Regions from separate parts of the Homo sapiens genome. Here all the other regions are linked to region 1. Evidence: promoter capture Hi-C in human tissues and cell types (Jung and others, 2019). All regions are on one chromosome and are shown on one strand. The core of a region is centred on a gene start or on the middle of the fragment in contact, and the rest is flanking DNA. Distances in the headings are between cores, read along the strand shown. Region 1 holds the start of KPNA7 (karyopherin subunit alpha 7). Region 2 overlaps ARPC1A (actin related protein 2/3 complex subunit 1A). Region 3 overlaps SMURF1 (SMAD specific E3 ubiquitin protein ligase 1).

What was found. Contacts are between HindIII fragments. The study calls those that stand out against the background at their distance.
Region 2: a fragment that was not itself captured here is called in contact with the fragment with the promoter of KPNA7 in region 1 in 1 of the 25 tissues and cell types used here (aorta).
Region 3: a contact is called between a fragment that was not itself captured here and the fragment with the promoter of KPNA7 in region 1, in 1 of the 25 tissues and cell types used here (H1 embryonic stem cells).

Annotation. Positions count from the first base shown.
Region 1 is chr7:99,205,373-99,210,061 of GRCh38, reverse strand. KPNA7 (karyopherin subunit alpha 7) reads left to right here and starts at 1,947. Exons shown (of 11, transcript NM_001145715.3): 1 at 1,947-2,034; 2 at 2,573-2,661. The coding sequence starts at 2,596. The HindIII fragment of the contact is 15,790 bases long and covers 1-4,689 here.
Region 2 is chr7:99,346,141-99,350,829 of GRCh38, reverse strand. It overlaps ARPC1A (actin related protein 2/3 complex subunit 1A), which reads right to left. Exons shown (of 10, transcript NM_006409.4): 5 at 1,871-1,978. Among named protein-coding and RNA genes, the nearest start is that of ARPC1A, 23 kb to the right of the region's middle. The HindIII fragment of the contact is 4,878 bases long and covers 107-4,689 here.
Region 3 is chr7:99,073,613-99,078,301 of GRCh38, reverse strand. The region is part of intron 1 of SMURF1 (SMAD specific E3 ubiquitin protein ligase 1); the gene reads left to right. Among named protein-coding and RNA genes, the nearest start is that of SMURF1, 68 kb to the left of the region's middle. The HindIII fragment of the contact is 3,837 bases long and covers 397-4,233 here.

The sequences.
Region 1 (4,689 bases), core at 698-3,197:
AGGAGAGTTAGATCAGATTCTCCTTGATTTTTTCTTTTTTTTGTTTGTTTGTTTTGGAGACAGGGTCTGGCTCTGCTGTCCAGGCTGGAGTGCAGTGGTGCAATCGTGGCTCACTGCAGCCTTGACTTCCTGGGCTCCAGAAATCCTCCCACCTCAGCCTCAAGTAGCTGGGACTACAGGTATGTGCCACCATGCCCAGCTTATTTTTATATTTTTTGTAGAGACGGGGGTCTTGCTTTGTTGCCCAAGCTGGTCTTGAACACCTGGCCTTAAGCAAGTCTCCACCTTAACCTCTCAAGTTGTTGAGATTACAGGCATGAGCCACTGTGCCTGACTAATCAGATTTTTTTCTTTTTTTTTTTTTTTTTTTTTTTTTTTTGAGTTGGAGTCTCGCTCTGTTGCCCAGGCTGGAGTGTAGTGGTGCGATCTTGGCTCACGGCAACCTCCGCCCCCTGGGTTCAAGCGATTCTCCTGTCTCAGCCTCCTGAGTAGCTGGGACTACAGGTGCCTGCCACTACGCCTGGCTAATTTTGTACTTTTAGTAGAGACAGGGTTTCGCCATGTTGGTCTGGCTGGTCTCGAACTCCTGACCTCAGGTGATCCACAATCACATGTACTCTGTGCAAAGAACAGATTGGAATAAGGCAATGGGAGAAGCAGGGAGACCAGCTGGAAGGCAACTGCAGTAGTGTGGGTAAGAGGTGATAGTGGTCTGGACTGGGGTGGAGGCAGTCTACTGAAGGATTCTCAGTGACTTGTGCTTGAGACTGTCCTGACCCCATGTGCTGGTGCATTGGGTGTGGGGTTTTCCTGTTGCAGCCTTGGCGGGTCTCCTCACCACCCTGTACATATGCCTGATTTATAACTCCTCAGACACACCGTGTGAAAGCCTTCTTTTCTTTTTCTTTTTGAGACGGAATCTTACTCTGTTGCCCAGGCTCGAGTACAGTGGCGCAATCTCAGCTCACTGCAACCTCCGCCTCCCGGATTCAAGTGATCCTCCTGCTTCAGCCTCCCAAATAGCTGGAATTATAGGTGTCCGCCACCATGCCTGACTAATTTTTGTATTTCTAGTAGAGATGGGGTTTCCCCATGTTGCCCAGGCTGATCTCGAACTCCTGGCCTCAAGTGATCCATCTGCCTCAGCCTTCCAAAGTGCTGGGATTATAGGTGTGAGCCACTGCACCTGGCATGAAAGGCTTCTATATATGACAACCAGCCCATCTGCCTCATTTGAGGACCCAGTTGAAGCCAAAGCACTTTTAAAAGCTTTCCTTTACTGCTATGCCCAGCATTGGTGGTCTTGGTGCTCCCACAGTGTTCACAGCCTACTGAGCTGGTGTGGTGATGCTTATAGAAGCTGACTTCAGGTTCATGCCTGTAATCCCAGCACTTTGGGAGGCTGAGGTGGGTGGATCACAAGGTCAGGAGTTCAAGACCAGCCTGGCCAACGTGGTGAAAAGCCGACTCTACAAAAACAAACAAAACCAAAAATAAGCCAGGTGTGGCCGGGCACGGTGGCTCACGCCTGTAATCCCAGCACTTTGGGAGGCCGAGGTGGGTGGATCACGAGGTCAGGAGATAGAGACCATCCTGGCTAACACGGTGAAACCCCGTCTCTACTAAAAATACAAAAAAATTTGCTGAGCGTGGTGGCAGGTGCCTGTAGTCCCAGCTACTCGGGAGGCTGAGGTAGGAGAATGGCGTGAACCCGGGAGGCGGAGCTTGCAGTGAGCCAAGATTGCGCCACCGCACTCCAGCCTGGGTGACAGAGTGAGACTCTGTCTCAAAAAATAAATAAATAAAATAAATAAAAAGTGAGTCATGTGTGGTGGCTCATGCCTGTAGTCCCAGCTACTCAAGAGGCTGAGGTGGGTGAATCACTTGAGTCCAGGAGGTCAAGGTTGCAGTGAGCCGTGATTGTGCCAATGCACTCCAGCCCGGGTGACAGAGTGAGACTCTGATGCCAACAAGCAGGTCTTGCAGAAATAGGACATGGAGCTGAGAAGTCCAGACTGTTGTTCTTGCTGCCAGGTTGAGCCCAAGGGTTGGGGACGGGGAGTCTGTGCTGTGTATATGGGTTCTAACTCTCACTCAGCTTCTCTGGTCCCAAAAAATAAAAAATGCTGGCTGGGAGCGGTGGCTCATGCCTGTAATCCCAGCACTTTGGGAGGCCGAGGTGGGCGGATCACAAGGTCAGGAGTTCAAGACCAGCCTGGCCAACGTGGTGAAACCCCGTCTCTACTAAAAAGACAAAAATTAGCCGGGCGTGGTGGCAGGCGCCTATAGTCCCAGCTACCTGGGAGGCTGAGGCAGGAGAACCACTTGAACCCGGGAGGCGGAGGTTGCAGTGAACTGATATCCCCCCACTGCACTCAAGTCTGGGCAACAGAGCGAGACTCTGTCTCAAAAAAAAAAAAAAAAAAAAAAAAAAAAAAAAAAAAAAAAGCTAGCTTCCTGGGTCTGCCCTTTGCTCCACTGTGAGCCCTTTAAGGGTTAGAGCCTTATGATACTGACATAATAACCCACACAATGGGCACTGAAAATTTCTTTGTTGCTGTCCAACCTGCAGGTAACTTACTACTTCCAGTCAATATGCCGACCTTAGATGCTCCAGAAGAGAGGCGGAGAAAATTTAAGTACCGAGGCAAAGATGTGTCTGTGAGTATGAAGCACCCACCTGCTTCTATTGGGGACCAGTGCAATCTGCATAAAAAGCGGGGTGAAGAGACCAGGCGCGGTGGCTCATGCCTGTAATCCCAACACTTTGAGAGGCTGAGACGGGCAGATCACAAGGTCAGGAGGTTAAGACGATCCTGGCCAACATGGTGTAACCCCGTCTCTACTAAAAATACAAAAATGACCTGGGTGTGGTGGCTTGTACTTGTAATCCCAGCTACTTGGGAGGCTGAGGCAGGAGAATTGCTTGAACCTGGGAGGCAGAGGTTGCAGTGAGCTGAGATCAGGCCACTGCACTCCAGCCTGGGCGACAAGAGAGAAACTCCATCTCAAAAAAAAAATAGCGGGGGGCAGGGAGGTGGTGGAGAGATGGGTTGAAAAGGCAAATATAGCAAAAGATTCTTTAGATAGATGACTAGGTGTTTCCCTGAATTATCCTTCCAACTTTTCTGTATGTTTGCTATTTTCATCATAAAATATTAAAGGTGGAGAAGACAAAAGCATGTGGACTTAGGAGCCAGACAACTGTGGAATCAAATCAAAGTTTCCGTGGAATCTTGCAATTATTTAATTTCAGAACCCCAGTTTCTTCATCCATAAAACAGGGCTGCTTAGCTGGGCATGGTAGCTCATGCCTGTGTTCCCAGTACTTTGGGGGAGGCCAAGGTGGGAGGATCGCTTGAAGATAGGAGTTCTAGACCAGCCTGGGTAACATACCAAGACCTCCAACTCTACAAAAACAAAAAATCGGCCAGGTGTGGTGGTGTGTGCCTGTAGTCTCAGATACTCTGGTGGCTGAGGCAGGAGGATTGCTTGAGCCCAGGAGTTCAAGGCTGCAGTGAACTGTGATTGTGCCACTGCACTCCAATCTGGGTGACAGAGCCAGACCCTGTCTCTAAAACAAAACCAAATAAAAAACCAGGCTGGGCTGGGCATGATGGCTCACACCTGTAATTCCAGCACTTTGGGAGGCCAAAGTGATCACTTGAGGTCAGGAGTTCGAGACCAGCCTGGCCAACATGGTGAAACCCTGTCTGTACTAAGAATACAAAAAATTAGATGTGCATGGTGGCGGGGGCCTGTAATCCCAGCTACTTGGGAGGCTGAAGCAGGAGAACTGCTTGAACCTGGGAGGTGGAGGTTGCAGTGAGTCGAGATTGTGCCACTGCACTCCATCCAGGCGACAGTGTGAGACTTCGTCTGAAAAAAATAAAAAACCAGGCTGCTATTTATCTCCGAGGAGCTGGATTGCTTCCTCAAGGGCCAGTATACAGGTGTTTACAGCTGCTCACGTCAATGAGGCTTACCAAGGAGCTAAAACGTTAGCATATAGGTATGGCCAACAGGCATGCCTTGTAGAAATAGGACTTGGAACTGAGAAGTCCAGGCTGTTCTTGCTTCCAGGTTGAGCCCAAGGGCTGGGGACGGGGGGTGTGTGCTGTGTATATGGATTCTAACATTCACTCGGCTTCTTTGGTCACATAGTTTTGTGTTGCAAGCTCTGTCCTCCATCTCTGTATCTTTTTATTTTTGAGATGAAGACTTGCTTCATAGTCCAGGCTGGAGTGCAGCAGTGTGATCTTGGCTCACTGCAACCTCTGCCTCCCAGGTTCAAGCGATTCTCCTGCCTCAGCCTCCCAAGTAGCTGGGATTACAGGTGTGCACAATTACGCCTGGCTAATTTTTTGTATTTTTAGTGGAGACAGGGTTTTGCCATGTTGGCCAGGCTGGTCTCAAACTCCTGGCCTCAAGTGATCTGCCTGTCTTGGCCTCCCAAAGTGCTGGGATTACTGGCATGAGCCACTGCTCCCAGCCCCCCATCTCTGTATCTTGACTGGCATCGTATAAGTTTAGCTCCACCTTGGGAATCCAGAAGCCTGATTAGGAGAACGAGGGAAGCACAGGGTCACAGCAGCCTGGTTAGGCCACCATCAGGAACAAAATCACTTTTTTTTTTTTTTTTTTTTTTTTTGAGATGGAGTCTTGCTCTGTCACCAGGCTGGAGTGCAA
Region 2 (4,689 bases), core at 1,296-3,795, 140 kb before region 1:
ACAAAAAATAAACAAAATCAGCCAGGCATGGTGGCTCATGCCTGTGGTCCCAGCTACTCAGGAGACTGAGGTGGGAGGATTGCTTGAGTCCGGGAGGTCGAAGCTGCAGGGAGCTATGATCGCACCACCACACTCCAGCCTGGGTGACAGAGCAAGACCTTGTCTCAAAAAAAAAAAAAAAAAAAAAAAAAAAAAAAAGTGCACCTCATCTCCCAACCTACCATATAGTCAACACAAAGCAACATTTATTTGCTTTGCTTTCCTTTCAGCTAAAGGGAAAAAAGCATATTCTTGAGAAAGAACAACTTTAAAAAGCAATTACATGGAATTCCATGGTATGATCCTTAAAGTTCTTAGCAAAGTGGCTGCATTTCTTCTAGCTTCAAGCTAATGACAAAATAAAAAGCTTTAACTGAAAGAACAGCACAATAACAGCTTAGCAGCGCACTGTTTAGCTATGTTTTATTAATTGTTTCACTTTGGAATTTGCAGAGACTGCTGCCTGGAATATGAAATGAGAAAAATACTGTTGTCAAGAAAGACAGGGAGAAAGGGAGACACAGAAAGAGATGGTAAGAAAGAGACAGAGACAGAGACAGAGAGAGTACATGCTAATCCTCCCCTCTAAACCATAGATATTCTTACACTTAAGGAAATCTTCGCTGGCCCCACCCTTGCCTCTCCCTCCTACCCCACTTCCAAGTGGATTTCTTTTTACCTCAGTGACTTATGAACTTGTTCTTTTAATCACCATGCTTGAGCTCCTTTTCTGGATCACAAACTGCTTCCATTTTTTTGTTTTGTTTTTGTTTGTTTTTTGAGATGGAGTCTTACTCTGTCGCCCAGGCTGGAGTGCAGTGGTGTGATTTCAGCTCACTGCAACCTCCACCTCCCCGGTTCAAATGATTCTCATGCCCTAGCCTCCCAAGTAGCTGGGATTACAGGCATTTGTGACCACACCAGGCTAACTTTTATTTATTTATTTATTTTGAGACAGAGTCTCGCTCTGTCGCCCAGGCTGGAGTGCAGTGGTGTGATCTCGGCTCACTGCAAGCTCCGCCTCCCGAGTTCACACCATTCTCCTGCCTCAGCCTCCCGAGTAGCTGGGACTACAGGCACCCGCCACCACGCCCGGCTAATTTTTTGTATTTTTTTAGTAGAGACGGGGTTTCACTGTGTTAGCCAGGATGGTCTCGATCTCCTGACCTTGTGATCCGCCCACCTCAGCCTCCCAAAGTGCTGGGATTACGGGCGTGAGCTACTGCGCCCGGCCTCTTTTGTATTTTTAGTAGACACGGGGTTTCACCATGTTGGCCAAGTTGGTCTTGAACTTCCAACCTCAGGTGATCCGCCCACCTCAGCCTCCCAAAGTGCTGGGATTACAGGTGTGAGCCACAGCACCAGGCCTCATTTTTGAGTCCCTCACAGTGCCTAGCGCAGTACCTTGCAAAGAAAAGGAAACTTACAGGCCAGGCACACTGGCTCATGCCTGTAATCCCAGCACTTCAGGAGGCCAAGGAGGGAGGATCACTTGAGGCCAGGAGTTCAAGACCAACCTGGGCAATGTAGCAAGACCCCGTCTCTACAAAGAATAAAGACAATTTTAAAAAAATTAGCCAGGTGTGGTGGCATATACCTGTAGTCCCAACTACTCTGGAGGCTGAGGCTGGAGGATCGCTTGAGCCCAGGAATTGGAGGCTGCAGTGAGCTATGATGGTGCCACTGCACTCCAGCCTGGGTGAGAGTGAGACCCTGTCTCAAAACAACAACAACCACAACAAAACAAAAAACAAAGAAAGAGAACCTAAAATTATTTGTTGAAGGATGAAGAATGCACGGCTCAAGTTTATCAGTTCTCACTGGTTCCCACCTGCATTTGAAGTCACATGATCCTGCTGCCAGCAAAACGTTGTTGGGATGCCAATCCAAGCTGAGGACTGTGGAGCGAATCGGCTTTTTAATGTGCTTGCTCACCCACCTATGAGAGGGGAAAACTGTTTCAGTTTATCCACTCAACCAGCATCCCCAAATGACCTACAAATGTATGTCAGGTGAAAATACCTAAGTAGGCCACACTTTTCCTTAATTTAAAAAAAAATTATAAAACAATTCAGAATATTATTTTTTTCAGAATAAACTTTTTCAGATAGGTTTCTATAAAAAAAGATTCTATAGAAAAGTAACAGAGCATTCAACGTTCTTCTGTCGGTCACCAGGCCTTCTGCCAGAGACAAGGTTTTTTGATACCAGGTTATGATCTGAGACTGGCTAATTTTTGTATTTTTTGTAGAGATGAGATTTCTCCATGTTGCCCAGGCTGGTCTCAAACTCTGGGGCTCAAGTGATCTACCGGCCTCAGCCTCCCAAAGTGCTGGGATTACAGGCATGAGCCACTACGCCCAGCTGACAAGGTGCATTGCTAAAGGACAGAAAGGAAAAGAACCATGAACAGGCCTTCTCCACTCCTGGCCCTGATGTTCTCAGCACAACAGCTGGTTTTCAGCAGTCCTCATTAGTAAGCATAGATATTGATTAACTCAGTTATGTTTTCGTGAGATTTCGGATTACATAGGACGTTAACCTCTGAGATAAAAACTGAAGTTTGAAAATACTTCAATTTTTATTATGAATATTCAGTGATTTGCTGAATTTTTGGTGAATTTGGGGTTGTAAGACAGCTTAATATCCTTCCCAAGTCTCCACGAATCTGCAAATTCTTTTTAATTTCTTTCACTGAAAAATCACAACCAAGAAATTAGAAGAACCTCATGTTGGGGATTAGCCTCTAATTCGCTAGCACCATCCAAAAAAGATGATTTATGTCTAGGACCAGTCAGTATTTTGGCTTAACTAATTCATTTCTGCCCCCAAACTGCTGTTTAAAAACCAATCACGTCTGGTTGCTCAACAGTTGGGAGACTAAATATTGAGCCAATGCCTTTCCTTCAATGCTAAATTACCTTTCTATAGAATCACTTTCTTTCTTTTTTTTTTTTTTTTGAGATGGAGTTTCGCTCTTGTTGTCCAGGCTGGAGTGCAATGGCGTGATCTCAGCTCACCGCAACCTCCACCTCCCGGGGTCAAGCAAGAATCACTTTCTTTTATTTATTTATTTTTTATTTTTTTGAGACAGAGTCTTACTCTGTCATCCAGGCTGGAGTGCAGTGGCGCAATGTCAGCTCACTGCAACCTCTGCCTCCTGTGTTCAAGCAATTCTTGTGCCTCAGCCTCCCGATAGCTGGGATTATAGGCTCACGCCACCACGCCCGGCTAATTTTTGTAATTTTAGAGGAGATTAGCTTTCACCATGTTGGCCAGGCTGGTCTCAAACTCCTGGTCTCAGGTGATCTGCCTGCCTTAGCCTCCCAAAGTGCTAGGATTACAGGCATGAGCCACCACGCCTGGCTACAGAATCACTTTCTTAGTATCCTGTCTGAAGAAGTTCATTCTGAAAAAGACAGCCAGGTGCAGAGGCTTGCAACTATACTCCCAGCACTTTGGAAGACCAAAGCAGAAGGATTGCTTGAGTACAGGAATTTGAGATCAGCCTGGGCAAGAAAAGTGAGAACCTGTCTCCACAAGTAATCAAAAAATTAGCCAGGTGTGGTGGTGCAAACCTGTAGTCCCAACTACTTGGGAGGCTGAAGTGGCAAGACTGCTGGATCCCAGGAGTTGGAGACTGCAGTGAGCCGTGTTTGTACCACTGTACTCCAGACTGGGTGACAGAGAGAAACCCTGTCTCAAAAAATAAATAAATAAATAAAATAAAAAACCAAAATCCCCCACAAAGTCTCTAAAAAAGGAGAAAAAGACAGTATTTCGAATTGTTTCATAATGTATACATATTTTTTGAGACAGAGTCTTGCTCTGTTGCCCAGGCTGGAGTGCAGTGGCATGGTCTCGGCTCATTGCAACCTCTACCTCCCTGGTTCAAGCGATTCTCCTGCCTCAGACTCCCAAGTAGCTGGGATTATAGGCATGCACCACCACACCTGGCTAATATTTTGTATTTTTAGTAGAGATGGGGTTTCTCCATGTTGGCCAGGATGGTTTCGAACTCTTGACTTCGTGATCCGCCTGCCTTGGCCTCGCAAAGTGCTGGGATTGCAGGCGTGAGCTACCGTGCCTGGCCTTTATAATGTAATTTTTTTAATTAAGGAAAAGATGGCAAGCAAAATAATTAGTTCATATGGCTGAATTATAAACTTCTGAGAAGTTGTTTTAAAGTACTCCTATGAAATATGAAATAATTGTTCTACAGCTGAGAAACTGCCCTAAACATACAGCTTGTTCAAAGACAATACCTTGTACCATAATAAAGTCCAATTTACCTATACTTGACACTAATTCTCAACGAATAAAAATGTAAACAATTACTGAGGTTGAAGCTTAACTTGGAAGAAAAGTTTCCTGTAGAAATTTGTAAGATTGCAAGGAGTACCAGCTGACATAAAGTTTAGCCTTGAGAGAATATTAATGAAGTTAGTTTCCTATCTCATTACAATGAAACTTCCAAATAGTTTCTAGCAGGTAACATTTTGTTAGCCTTGATTTCACATTTGAAAGAAAAATGTATGTTTCAAATTCGTAACTCAATTTTTTTTTTTTTTTTTGAGACGGAGTTTCACTCTTGATGCCCAGGCTGGAGTGCAATGGCGTGATCTCGGCTCACCGCAACCTCTGCCTACT
Region 3 (4,689 bases), core at 1,066-3,565, 130 kb after region 1:
CACTTTTTTTTTTTTTTTTTCGCCCAGGCTGGAGTGCACTGGTATGATCTCAGCTCAACGCAACCTCTGCCTCCCAGGTTCAAGTGATTCTCCTGCCTCAGCCTCCCGTGTAGCTGGGATTACAGGCACCCACTACCACGCCTGGCTAATTTTTTTGTATTTCTAGTAGAGACGGGGTTTCACCATATTTGGCCAGGCTGGTCTTGAACTCCTGACCTCAGGTGATCCACCTGCCTCGGCCTCCCAAAGTGCTGGGATTATAGGAGTGAGTGACTGTGCCCGGCACTGGTGCCACTATTTTTTTTTTAAATAAAGACATGAAAAGCCACAAGATTTCAGATAACGAAGCAAATAACCGAGTAATAGAATGAGCCCTTTCAGGATTCTGTAAAAGCTGTTTTATTTGTGAATTAATTTTTGAAAAATTTTACCCTGAGTCTTCAAAACTTTGTATTTTTCTGTGGTTACTGACATTAGTGACATTTCTTTTTGATTTGTCCCTGTCTTCTGTAACATATTTATATTATACATCAACCTGGAAAAATTTCATATTCAGCCCTTTAGAGTTGCCTGATGGTGGAAATCACAAATGACATATTAATAATCTGAACAAAGAATAGAAAGTGAACCAGACATAGCACCAGTGCCTGTGCTTAGAAGTGGATTAAGAGGCCAGGCGCAGTGGCTCACACCTGTAATCCCAGCACTTTGGGAGGCTGAGGCAGGTGGATCATGAGGTCAAGAGATCAAGAACATCCTGGCCAACATGTTGAAACCCCATCTCTACTAAAAATACAAAAAGTTAGCCGGGTGTGGTGGTGGGCACCTGTAGTCCCAGCTACTCGAGAGGCTGAGGCAGGAGAATAACTTGAACCCGGGAGGCAGAGGTTGCACTGAGCTGAGATTGCGCCACTGTACTCCAGCCTGGCAACAGAGCGAGACTCCATCTCAAAAAAAAAATAAAAAAAAATAAAAAAAATAAAAAAAAAGAAGTGGATTAAGAATCCTAGCTACTGTCAGTTTAATCCTTTTTTAAAGTCACTAATATTTTAATATAAAAAGTAAGCTTTTACTTTTCCTCATAAATGTTTTTCATATCATCATTCTTTGCAGAAAATTTAAAGATTACAACCAGGTGAAAAGAAGAGAAATAAATTATACCATAATTTATTATTAAAGAAAGATAATTATACTGTATTAGTTGACATCATTCCAGACTCTTAAATACACATTTATCCACATACACACAATTTTACCAAAAAGAGTTTACCTCGTCACTGTTCTGTAACCTTTTTTGTTTTTTTTTTTATTATAGACATTATTTTTTAGAACAATTTTGGACTTATGGAATTATTGCCAAGGTAGGACAGACAGTTCCCATGTTACCCCTTCCGCCCCCACACGCGCACACACGTGCACACACATGCAGGCACACGCACACACATGCACGTGCACACACATACACATGGGCACACGTGCACACATGCACACTTGCACACATGCGCACACACACATGTACATACGCATACACACGTCCAGATTCCCCAATTAACAGCATCTAACATGACTGCAGTACATTTGTTGCAATTAATGAAGCAATTTTAATACACTGTTACTAACTCAAGTCCATGCTTTCACTGTCTTATTTTTTACCTACTGACATGTTCTGTTTCAGGATCCCATCCAGGATATGACATCACATTTAGTTGTCATATTTCCTTAGGTTGCTCTTGGCTGTGACAGTTTCTTAGACTTTCCTTGCTTTTGATGATCTTGACAGCTTTGAGAAGCACTGGTCAGGTATTTGTAGAATGTTCCTCCACTGGAAGTGTTTGATGTTTGTGTCATGATTAGATTGGGATTATGCATTTTAGAGAGGAAGACCACAGAAGTGAAGTACCATTCTCATCGGGTCCTGTCAAAATTTCATGCTCTTAATATCAGCGTGACTTGTCACTGTTGATGTTGACCTTGATCACCTGGCTGAGATGGTGTTCGTCAGGTTTCTCCACTGTAAAGTTACTTTTTTTTCCTCTCTTTCCATACTGGACTCTTTGGAAGGAAGTCACTACACACAGCTCACACTTAAGGAGTAGGGGCTGGGTGTGGGGGCCCACGCCTGTAATCCCAGCACTTCGGTAGGCTGTGGCTGGAGGATCGCTTGAGCCCAGGATTTGAGACCAGGCTGGGCAACATTGCGAGACCCCATCGCTATAAAAAATAAAAAATTAGCCAGGATAAGGTAATGACCTGCAGGACACATGAAGAAGGTGACTGGGGAACTGGCCATGCTCTATTTCCTGACCTGGGTGCTAATTATATACGTGTGTTCAGTTTGTGAGAATTCAGTGAGCTGTACACTCAGATATTTATAAATCAATCATAAACATCAATAGACAGAATAGAAAGTCCAAATATAGACCCATGTCAACTGATGTTCTTCAAAGGTGCCAAGACAATTCGATGATGGGGAAAAAAAGATAGCCTTGTCTAGACTGGAAAATAGGAAATCCAGCCAGAATGAATGGGATATCCTTATGAAAAAAGAATAATAATAAGTCTCAACCCTTACCTCACATCATACACAAAAATTGACCTGTGTGTGATACTCTGAGCTGTTGTTACACATGACACTGATGACACCTAATGTGTGGGTTTTTTTTTTTTTTCCCCACATCAATCCCAATTCTGATGCTAACTGGCTATTCTACAGTTCGATTCAATCCCAACGCTTAATTCCCCAGAATTAGCAAAGACCCCACAGGTTAAGGGCTCAGTCCCACAAGACTACTCCTACCTTATCCATGAGTTGCAAATCAAAGGTTGTCACCTATATTTCTGACTAATAAATAAATCGGGGGTTCCCTTTGCAGGTTCAGTAATTTGCTAGAGGCCTGTAATCCTGTAATCCCAGCACTTTGGGAGGCTGAAGCAGGCAGATCACTTGAGGCCAGGAGTTCAAGCCCAGCCTGAGCAACAGACTGAGATTCCAGCTGTACAAAAAATTAAACAAAATGAGCCAGGCTTGGTGGCGCATGCCTGTAGTCCCAGCTACTTGGGGAGGCTGAGGTGGGAGGATCGCTTGAACCTGGGAGGTTGAGGCTGCAGTGAGCTGTGATTGTGCCACTGCACTCCAGCCTGGGTGACAGAGTGTAGACCCTGTCTCAAAATAATAATAATTTGCTAGAATGTCTCCAGGAGTCAGGAAAACACTACTTACTACTGCTACTTCCACCTCCTTGCTAGCACTTAGTATTGTCAGTCTTTTTAATTTTAGCAATTCTAGTAGGTATGTGGTGGTACCTTACTGTGGTTTTCATGTGCATTGTGCATTGTACCAATGATTATTGATACTGAGCATGTTTTTCTGTGCTTATTGGCCATGTGATGTCTTTTTTGGTAAGGTGTCTATTTAAAAGTTAATTTTAAAAATTTTTATAGAGATAGGGTCTCACTGTTTTGCCCAGGCTGATCTTGAACACCTGGACACAAGTCATCCTCCCACCTTGGCTTCCCAGTGTTGGGATTACAGTTGTGAGCTGCTGTGCTCAGCCAAATATCAATTTTTTAATTGGATTGGGTTTTTTTTTTAAATTGAGTTGTAGAGTTCTTTATTCTAGATGCAGGTCTTTTGTTGGTCATATGGGTTGTTAATATTTTCTCCCAGTCTGTCTCTTGCCCTTTCATTTTCCTAATGGTATCTAGTTTTTACGTTATTGTATTTAATTTTTATGTTTCTGCTCCGTTTGAGGCCAATTTTTGTGTATGATGTGAGGTAAGGGTTGAGACTTATTATTATTCTTTTTTCATAATGATATCCCATTCATTCTGGCTGGATTTCTTATTTTCCAGTCTAGACAAGGCTATCTTTTTTCCCCCATCATCGAATTGTCTTGGCATCTTTGAAGAACATCAGTTGACATGGGTCTATATTTGGACTTTCTATTCTGTCTATTGATGTTTATGATTGATTTATAAATATCTGAGTGTACAGCTCACTGAATTCTCACAAACTGAACACATGTATATAATTAGCATCCAGGTCAGGACATAGAGCATGGCCAGTTCCCCAGTCACCTTCTTCATGCGTCCTTCAGGTCATTACCTTATCCTGCTAAAGGATAATCACTAGCCTAACTTTAACAGCATATATTAGTTCTGTCTGCTTTTGTACTTTATATAAGTGGCATTGTATGAAATGTATTGTCTTGTGGCTTTCATTGAATATTATGTTTGTGAGATTCATTCATAAATGTGTGTGTTGTTAGGATCTGCCATTCTCATTGCTGTATAGTATTCCATTTTGTGATGACCACAACTTTTTTATTGTTTGTATTGTTGATGGACATCTCAATGGTTCTCAGTTCCAAAACTGAGTACAATCAAACAGTACAATCAATAAAAGAACTATTAGGAACTGTGCTACTATTATTTATTATCCTTTTACTACATGGTGAGCATGTATCTGTGCATTTGCATTGAGGACATACCTAAGGGTGAAATTGCTGGGTCATGACCAATTTTTTTTTTTTTTTTGAGATGGAATCTCACTCTGTCACCCAGGCTGGAGTGCAGTGGCATGATTTTGGCTCAGTGCAACCTCAGCCCCCTGGGTTCAAGCGATTGTCCTGCCTTAGCCTCCCAAGTAGCTGGGATTATAGGTGCATGCCACCATACCCAGCTAATTCT